Regions from separate parts of the Homo sapiens genome. Here region 1 is linked to region 2. The links are contacts of gene promoters, found by promoter capture Hi-C in blood cells and fetal thymus (Javierre and others, 2016). All regions are on one chromosome and are shown on one strand. The core of a region is centred on a gene start or on the middle of the fragment in contact, and the rest is flanking DNA. Distances in the headings are between cores, read along the strand shown.

Region 1 (4,026 bases), core at 1,239-3,738, 520 kb before region 2:
GTGCTCAGGAAGTTGGCCTTAGACAGCTGGAAAGATATGTCCTTCATTGCCAGTAAACTGGCATTCTAATGTGCACATCAGCATTGTGTGAATACAGTCACTGTAAGTCTATCATCAAGTGTCAGGTTACCTCTGGGCATGGTGAAGTCTAGTTTCTGGACCTGCAGGGCTATGAGGAACAGATTCTGGACTGTGGTAAGTTTTTTGAAGTAATTCAAATTTATATTAAATTTGTATTTTAAAAAACCCTTTTGATAATCAATCTAGTCTTGTGGGCAGCTTTTCATTTGCTTCATGATATATTCCTGTACCCTCCATGAGTGGTGTTAGGAAAAATGGCAGTAAGTATTACTTTTAACAGTTAGTTGGTAGAATAATTTACTCACCGTATTCACTAAAAAGCTGATGATTACAAATAGAAAAATAGTTTTAGGAAATGTGGAGCTTAGAGAGAACAAACACAAGTCATTCTTGCTGCCACTCTCCTGTACTCATGTCAGACATTACTAATTGATAACACATCTTCCTGCTGAACCCAGACTGGCTGGAGAATTATTCTTAATAAAATTAATCCAGGAAGCCCACAACCAATTGCCTGAATTGAGCCATGTGAATAAAAACTCTGCCCTTTCTTTCTTTGTTTTTTTTTTTTTTTGAGATGGAGTCTCGCTCTGTCGCCCAGGCTGGAGTGCAGTGGTGCAATCTCAGCTCACTGTAACCTCTGTCTCCCGGGTTCAAGCAATTCTCCTGCCTCAGCCTCCCAAGTAGCTGGGACTACAGGCATGTGCCACCACGCCCAGCTAATTTTTGTATTTTTAGTAGAGATGGGGTTTCACCATATTGGCCAGGATGGTCTCAATCTCTTGACCTTGTGATCTGCCTGCCTCAGCCTCCCAAAGTGCTGGGATTACAGGCGTGAGCCACCGTACCCGGCCCCAAAACTCTGCCCTTTCTAGTGTAAATGAGTTGCTAGGAATTCTGGTCATCAAAATTACAGAATTCAGCTGGAAAGAACCTAAAGTATGATTTATCTTTTGAATTTAATGTCATGGGGGAAGCTAAATATGCTCTTTGGCCAAAAGTCTGTGGATATTCTGACAGAAATAATACCAGACTGGATAAATAGACAAATTATCAGGATAGAATTATCTAGACCAATAATACATTCACTGTTATAGCTTCAACCAGAACAGAATTTGCAAAGGATATTAGAGGTCATTGCCAGGCTTCACCTTCCAGCATTGCCTGTTACAGGGTGTATGGTAAATTGCTTAATCTCTTTTAATCTTCACGTGAGAAATAATATCCAATTCATAAATCTGAGAATACCAATTTAGATAACACATACAAAGTGTTCTTCTACAAAGTGTTCTACACAGTGGGTACTCATAGACATCTGTCCTTTCTTTCTTCTCTTGTTAAATATTCAACACTAAACGGAACCCCTTATCAGATATCTCCAATCTCTACTAAAATATTTCTAGTGATGAGAAACTCATTGTCTCATGAAGCACTTCACCTTCCTTTGAAGTGCTCTAATTATTAAAAAGCTTATCTTTCTATTTAACTGAAATCTGCCACACAGAATATAGCTTTGCTGATGGAGAATCTTTTGGGTATTTGACAAGATTACTCTGTGTTTCTAAGTCTTTTATTTTCCAGGTTATGGATCACCAGTTCATTCAACTGTTCCTTAGATGACGTGGTTTTCAATTCCATTATCATGTAGGTTGCCTTAACTTGGATCACTTCTAAATCTGTAGGATTAATCTGACCTCTCTTTTTCTGTTTCTAGTATTAGCTTAGGGAATATTTTTTAAGGAATGCCTGCTAACTGTGTTTTATCCCATTGCACTTGATCACCAGCATAATGCTACTTCCAAAGATATAACACAGAATTTATTGTTTTCATATGTAAATTTATAGAAACTATTTAAATTTAATAATTAATTATTAGTAACCTATAACCCCCCCCCCCCCCTCACCACTCCTTGGTTTCAGGGTTTGGTTTCAGGGTGGCTCAGGTGTCTTGAACACATTTGTAATGGAAACTTGATAAACTCCTATTTTGGGTTCACCCTCTTTTCTTGGGTGTGGGGCCAAAGTTTGTCACTTAGATTAACTAGTTGGCTTGCAAGCTATAATTATCTTCCTCCTCCAATTAAAATCACATTTCTGTATTGCCACATCTAGTTATTGCAAAATCTAGCAATACACCTTGGATTCTTATTTCCCTCTAAGCAGACTTTCCCTGACGATTCATATTTTTTCTTCTGGGTTGTTCAACTCTTAGGTATTGCTCTTGTCCCACTGCTGAGTAGGACATTGTTTCCAACAAAGATTGATCATTGGGTAATTTACAATATTGTTGGTTTTGTTTTTCTGTGTCTCATTTGCTGTATTAGAATGATTAACACACATTATTATATTATTATTTCTAGATTTGATTAATAGAATTTTGGGTGACTCATATACTCCAGCTATACCTATGTGACAGCATAATTGGATCCAAAATGAAAAATTCAATCAACATAGGGTTTTATTTTTAATTGTGCCAAATGAAAGGCTTAATTAATAATTTTCATTGGATTTTAGCTAATCCGTTTACCGGAATTTTTCAATCATGTGTTATGAATGTATAAACCTAATGTGATATTTCTAAACATCATTTCAACCTACATGTATTTGGCATGCCCACATTTTCTGCCAGATGCTGCATTAAGTACTGGGGACTTATTTCTGGATGGCCAATAATACCTGGCCCAGCCTTTGAGGAGGAATAAGATACAAAAATTCGTCTTCTAAAAAGGAAGTGCAGACTACCTGGGTCAAGGAACTTATGGTTCTCAGCTGGTGTGATGATTACTTAGTTTTATGGGAAAACACTCCAGAGGACACGCTCTTTGGTCCTATTCTTGCCAATCCACTCCCATTTAATACCATATGTTGAAATTTTATGTACTCCTCAAGGCTCTGCTCAGATGCCTTTCTGCTGTAAAGAGTGGTCCTCATATCCCAGCCCTTTATATTACCTCCCTTTTCCAAACTTCTGTGGCAGGTCACTTTATACCTGGCGAGGCAAGGTTATTTGCATACCTGACTAGTCCGCTCCCATTTGCTTCCATAGTGACCAGTAAATATTAGTTTGATTGAGAGAAAAGTGTATTTTACTTATTTTTAATTTTTATTCCTAACTGCTAGACCACCAAAGAGAGAGAGCACAATGTTTTTTAGATAGAACACCTCGTTATTAAGGGAGAACAAGTTCTATTTTGATCTAGATTGGCAGGAGTATTACATTTTCAGACTGAATATTTTCATGGAAAGCCAGTGTTCCATCAGCCATTTTAAGATAACTCAGTTTTGTATCTATGGTTAGGCGATTGCCTACATACAAAGCACACTTTAATGACGAATTAGAGGATTCCAAGCTTGCCTTTATAAGTGAATATCTACAGATTTTTTTTTCTTATAAATACTACATGGAAACCAAGTTACTCTATGTTTTGAAAGCAACTTCTAGTACTCTTTAGATGTATGGGAAAAAGTCCTCAGGTTAATTTCCTTAAGAAAAAGCGTCATGAATTAAAAGACTGCTTGTTGAAACTGAAGATCACTTTCTACTGAGTCACCAGATATTGAGCAATATGATTTATATCAATATGCCTTGTGAAATTGTCAAGTTAAAGATTGTACATATTAGATAAGAAAATTTTGTGTCCCTATAGAGTGACAAGTATCTTGAGGGTTTTCTGGAAATATTGAATTCAACAAATATCTCAGTAAAATGCAAACAACTTCTTGATGGATTTTTTAGTCTCAAACAGCCAGCCTAATTCCTTTATTAAGATTTAAGGAGAAGGAAGTAAGTGGAATTCAATTTCATATGACGCAAGCATATTTTAAATAGAGTAACCAAAACAAATAGATTCAAATGGAATCTATGCAAACCATCCTCTTTGCTTCCTTTGTGATGGACACTCCTTAGCTTCTGCGCCTTAATAAGGTAGGGTTTGTTCATTCAGT
Region 2 (3,834 bases), core at 1,160-3,659:
ATCAAACTTAAAGCACAGGGCTGCGCACAGTGGCTCACGCCTGTAATCCCAGCAGTTTGGGAGGCTGAGGCGGGTGGATCACTTGAGGTCAGGAGTTCAAGACCAGCCTGACCAACATGGTAAAACCCGGTCTCCACTAAAAATATAAAAATTAGCTGGGCCTGCTGGCGCATGCCTGTAATCCCAGCTACGAGGAAGGCTGAGGCAGGAAAATCACTTGAATCCGGGAGGCGGAGGTTGCAGTGAGCCAAGATTGCATCACTGCACTCCAGCCTGGATGAGAGAGGGAGACTCCATCTCAAAATAAAAAAATTAAAAAAAAAAACTTAAAACACAGAATCTGAGCACCTATTGAAGAGGCTTTGACATTTAACCTAATCCTAACCCAATGCAAGAATCCTCCCAATAGAAATTTCTGCTTCCACATTCCAGGATAGGGAGCTCATCACTTTGTAATTCAGCCTGTCCGTTACTAGACTGCTCTGATGGTTAGGAAAATCTTACTTGGTTCTGAAGTCATCTGCAGCCAGCTTGGCATTGTCGATCTGCACCACCAGCCTGGCATTCTCAGACTTGCTGCACAGGATCTGGGGATAGGATTAATCATGAAATGGGTTATACTAAGAAATGCCTTGTGCCTTAAAGTGAAATGCTATTTTCTTTCAGCCACATTCCTCCCAAATAGCTTTGAGTCCTTTCAGATTTTCAGCTCTGAGATAAAAGGAGGATTTGATCATAAAACTGATCATTTCAAAACCAGGACAACCAATGTGAATTCATCATGAATTCTATTCTTATCTGCTTCTGGCTTCCTGCAATAATTAGGTTACTGGGTATCCAACCCTTCGGTTGGGTGACCAACCATCCCAGTTAACTTAGGACTGAGGGGTTTCTGGGATGCTAAAATGGGAAAAATCCCAGGCAAGCCAGAACAACTTGGTTATCCAACACATTCCACCTGCTAACTTCTCTCCACTCTCCCCTCATATTGCCCTTGTTCATGCCTTTGCAAAAAGCTTCTTGCTGTACCCAGAATGCCCTCACCCACTAGCAAGACCCCTTGTGTAACCCACATACTTAATCAATAACACTTCTTATGACCTTTGTGTGATCATTTTGTTTCCACATCTATCTCCCCTGTTAGACTGTGAGCTCCTGAAGGAAGGAGACTGTCTTACTCAGTACATTATCCCCCACCCCAGCACTGTGCCTAACACTCTCCAACTCTGGGTAAATAAATGAATGATATTCAAATAGCACAACCCCTTTCTGGCATCTAATTTTCCAGATCTACAGAACAGTGGGCAGTCAATTCCCTCCCAGAATCAAGGGCTTGTACAATTGGATATAAACTCCCACTCATCCTTCAAACCCCACTCAGACATTGCCTCTTCTGGGATCCCTCCCAAACCTACACCAGGTATTCAGTCCCAATTCTCTGTGGACTCTTTACTTATATCTACTTCTCTTCCAGAACAGATGGCCCCATATTGTCATCTGTACACATGGCTGCTCTAGAGGATGGTCCATGTGTCTGTAGATATTGCTGGAGTCAACAGCTCTCTTGTGTTGCCATAAATGCTATATTTTGCTACAGCTTTGAAAGGCTTTAAATATTTGAAGATTTACTTAGGAAATTCTTAGCATAGAAAATAATTCAGGTGCATACTTTTTGAAAATGCGGTAATGCTCTGAAAACAAAACCAGGGTATCATAATCAAACCAAAAAATCAGATATTCTGGTTTGGAGTAAGACGCCATATAAGATTGCTATGACTGATTTTGGTCTAATGCTTCACTCTAACACCAGCCTGCATCCTTCCTTTGTGGCTCTACAACAGATTTTCTAAGACTACTTGATGTCATACCTAAGCCAGTGAATCTATGTCTTTATCATTCTCAGCATTACTGTGAACAGACTTAGATCCATTCACAGTTTAGTATGTCAAATATAGATAAGTAGTTCATTAAGCTGGCAGTGTGGTGCCCACCTCCTCACCTTCTGCTGGAGCTCCTCAATGGTCTTGAAGTAGGACTGGTAGCTGGGGCACAGCAAGGGCTCCTGCTGCTGAGACCGCTCCCGGATGAGGTTCTCCAGCTCCGCGTTGTCCCGCTCCAGCTGACGCACCTTCTCCAGGTAGCTGGCCAGGCGGTCGTTCAGGAACTGCATAGTCTCCTTCTCGCTGCCATTGAAGGAGCCCTCGCAGAACCAGTTGCAGTTGCTCACATTGGCAGGGATGTTGCAGGCCCCGGGCAGGGTGTAGCCGTGGCAGCTGGGGGGCACACAGGGCCGGGAGGAGCAGCTGGTGCGGCAGCTCAGGCTGGGCAGGCAGAAGTTGTAGGGCATGGTGCAGGGAGGCAGTGGAGCTCTGGAAGTCAGTTTCAAAACCTGATTCCTTTTCCCTGGGATAAGCCTTGGTCCTTTCCAGGGCTTTATATTCTGTTAGCAGTGGGTGTGGCAACCATGTCAAGTATTCCTCCTTTTTACCTCCTTTGCTGATTTTTCCATTTGTTATTTAGCCACTTCACCTGAGTCCTATACCTCATTAAATGTTTTACTCTGGCTTCTTGCTAAGTCAGGACTCCTCACAAAACATGCTGATTGGTTAAGTAAGAGCTTCATGGTTTGGCTTCAAAGTGACCAACCTTGCCTGTAGCAGTGCTTATCCATGGGACATTGAGCTAGAGTGACAGCTGGGCCCTGTCCCCAGAGTAGGGGGCACATATGTGCCTCTTTCTCCTAAATGAGGAAAGGCTTGTGTCTCATCCAGTTCATATTCAATTAAGACTCTGTGAGAAAAGCCATGTAAGGAAACCCGTCTAGAAACTAGACTATGTGATAGGGAATCCTGGAAGCTGAAATGAGAAAGGACTTACAAGGCCATTGGTTCAAGGCCCATTTGCAGTTCCATCCAGGCAGATGGAGGCAACTCTACCCTCTTCCTATGGGGCTGCAGGAAGCCACCCACCTCCGTTTCTACTAGTATTCAGTGTTCACAGAACATTAAGAAACCTAAATTTTGGGAGCACCTACTCTGCATGAAGCACTGTGCTCCATGCCTGTGCACAGCGTGACTCTGTCATTGGTGATGGGTCCTGCTTGCTGAGCCTCCACTGTGCACCAGGCACAGTGCCAGGCACCTCATATGCACCAGCTCCTTCAGTCCTCTCAAAATGCTGCAAGGGTTTGTAGATAAGGACCCTAAGCCTCTGAGAGGTCTCCCAAGGTCACAGAGCTCCTACATGATGGAGCCAGGGTTCAAATACAGATCTCTCTAATTCCAATGTCCACACTCTGTCATATTACATGTCTCTCTCTTCCAATCTTTTCAGTACTGAGATGCAATAATGCAAAAAATACAGATTGAGCTCCATTGAGCTCAATCAGTGCTGACAATATCCTAAATTAGAATGGGCCAAAAAATAACAAGCCTGTTTTTTACTTATTAAAGAACCAAAAGTCACTTCTATGCTGAAGGAAGGAAGTTTACTAAGTGAAAATGCCTCATACCCACTAGAAGCTTGAAAAAAAAAAAAAAAGGAAACCCTTGGTTGATCTGAGGGAGAAATACCCAAGCCTAGCTCTCCAAAGGATATGACCCTGAAAATCCACCACTATGTCATGTGCATGAAGTGGCATTTTATGACCATTGGCACATTTTGGCAAGCAGATGCTCTACTCTCATGCATTCCAGATGGAACTATGAAATATGAGGATTTTATGTTTAATCTATCAGTGCTCAAATTCTGAAAGATACTCCTCCAAGTTGTTCCTTTTGGAAGCTACATATTAAGTCTTGCCATACAAGAATTCTTTTCCTACAGGTGACCTGC

The links. Contacts are between HindIII fragments. The CHiCAGO score rates a contact against its expected background, and 5 or more counts as called.
Region 1: a fragment that was not itself captured here is called in contact with the fragment with the promoter of KRT33B in region 2 in 12 of 17 cell types (neutrophils, M2 macrophages, total B cells and 9 more); the score reaches 8.9 in neutrophils.

What each region holds. Positions count from the first base shown.
Region 1 is chr17:40,846,855-40,850,880 of GRCh38, forward strand. LOC105371777 (a long non-coding RNA gene) reads left to right here and starts at 3,944. Exons shown (of 3, transcript XR_934754.3): 1 at 3,944-4,006. The HindIII fragment of the contact is 1,881 bases long and covers 1,549-3,429 here.
Region 2 is chr17:41,367,404-41,371,237 of GRCh38, forward strand. It overlaps KRT33B (keratin 33B), which reads right to left and starts at 2,410. Exons shown (of 7, transcript NM_002279.5): 1 at 2,000-2,410; 2 at 505-587. The coding sequence starts at 2,347. The HindIII fragment of the contact is 2,505 bases long and covers 1,015-3,519 here.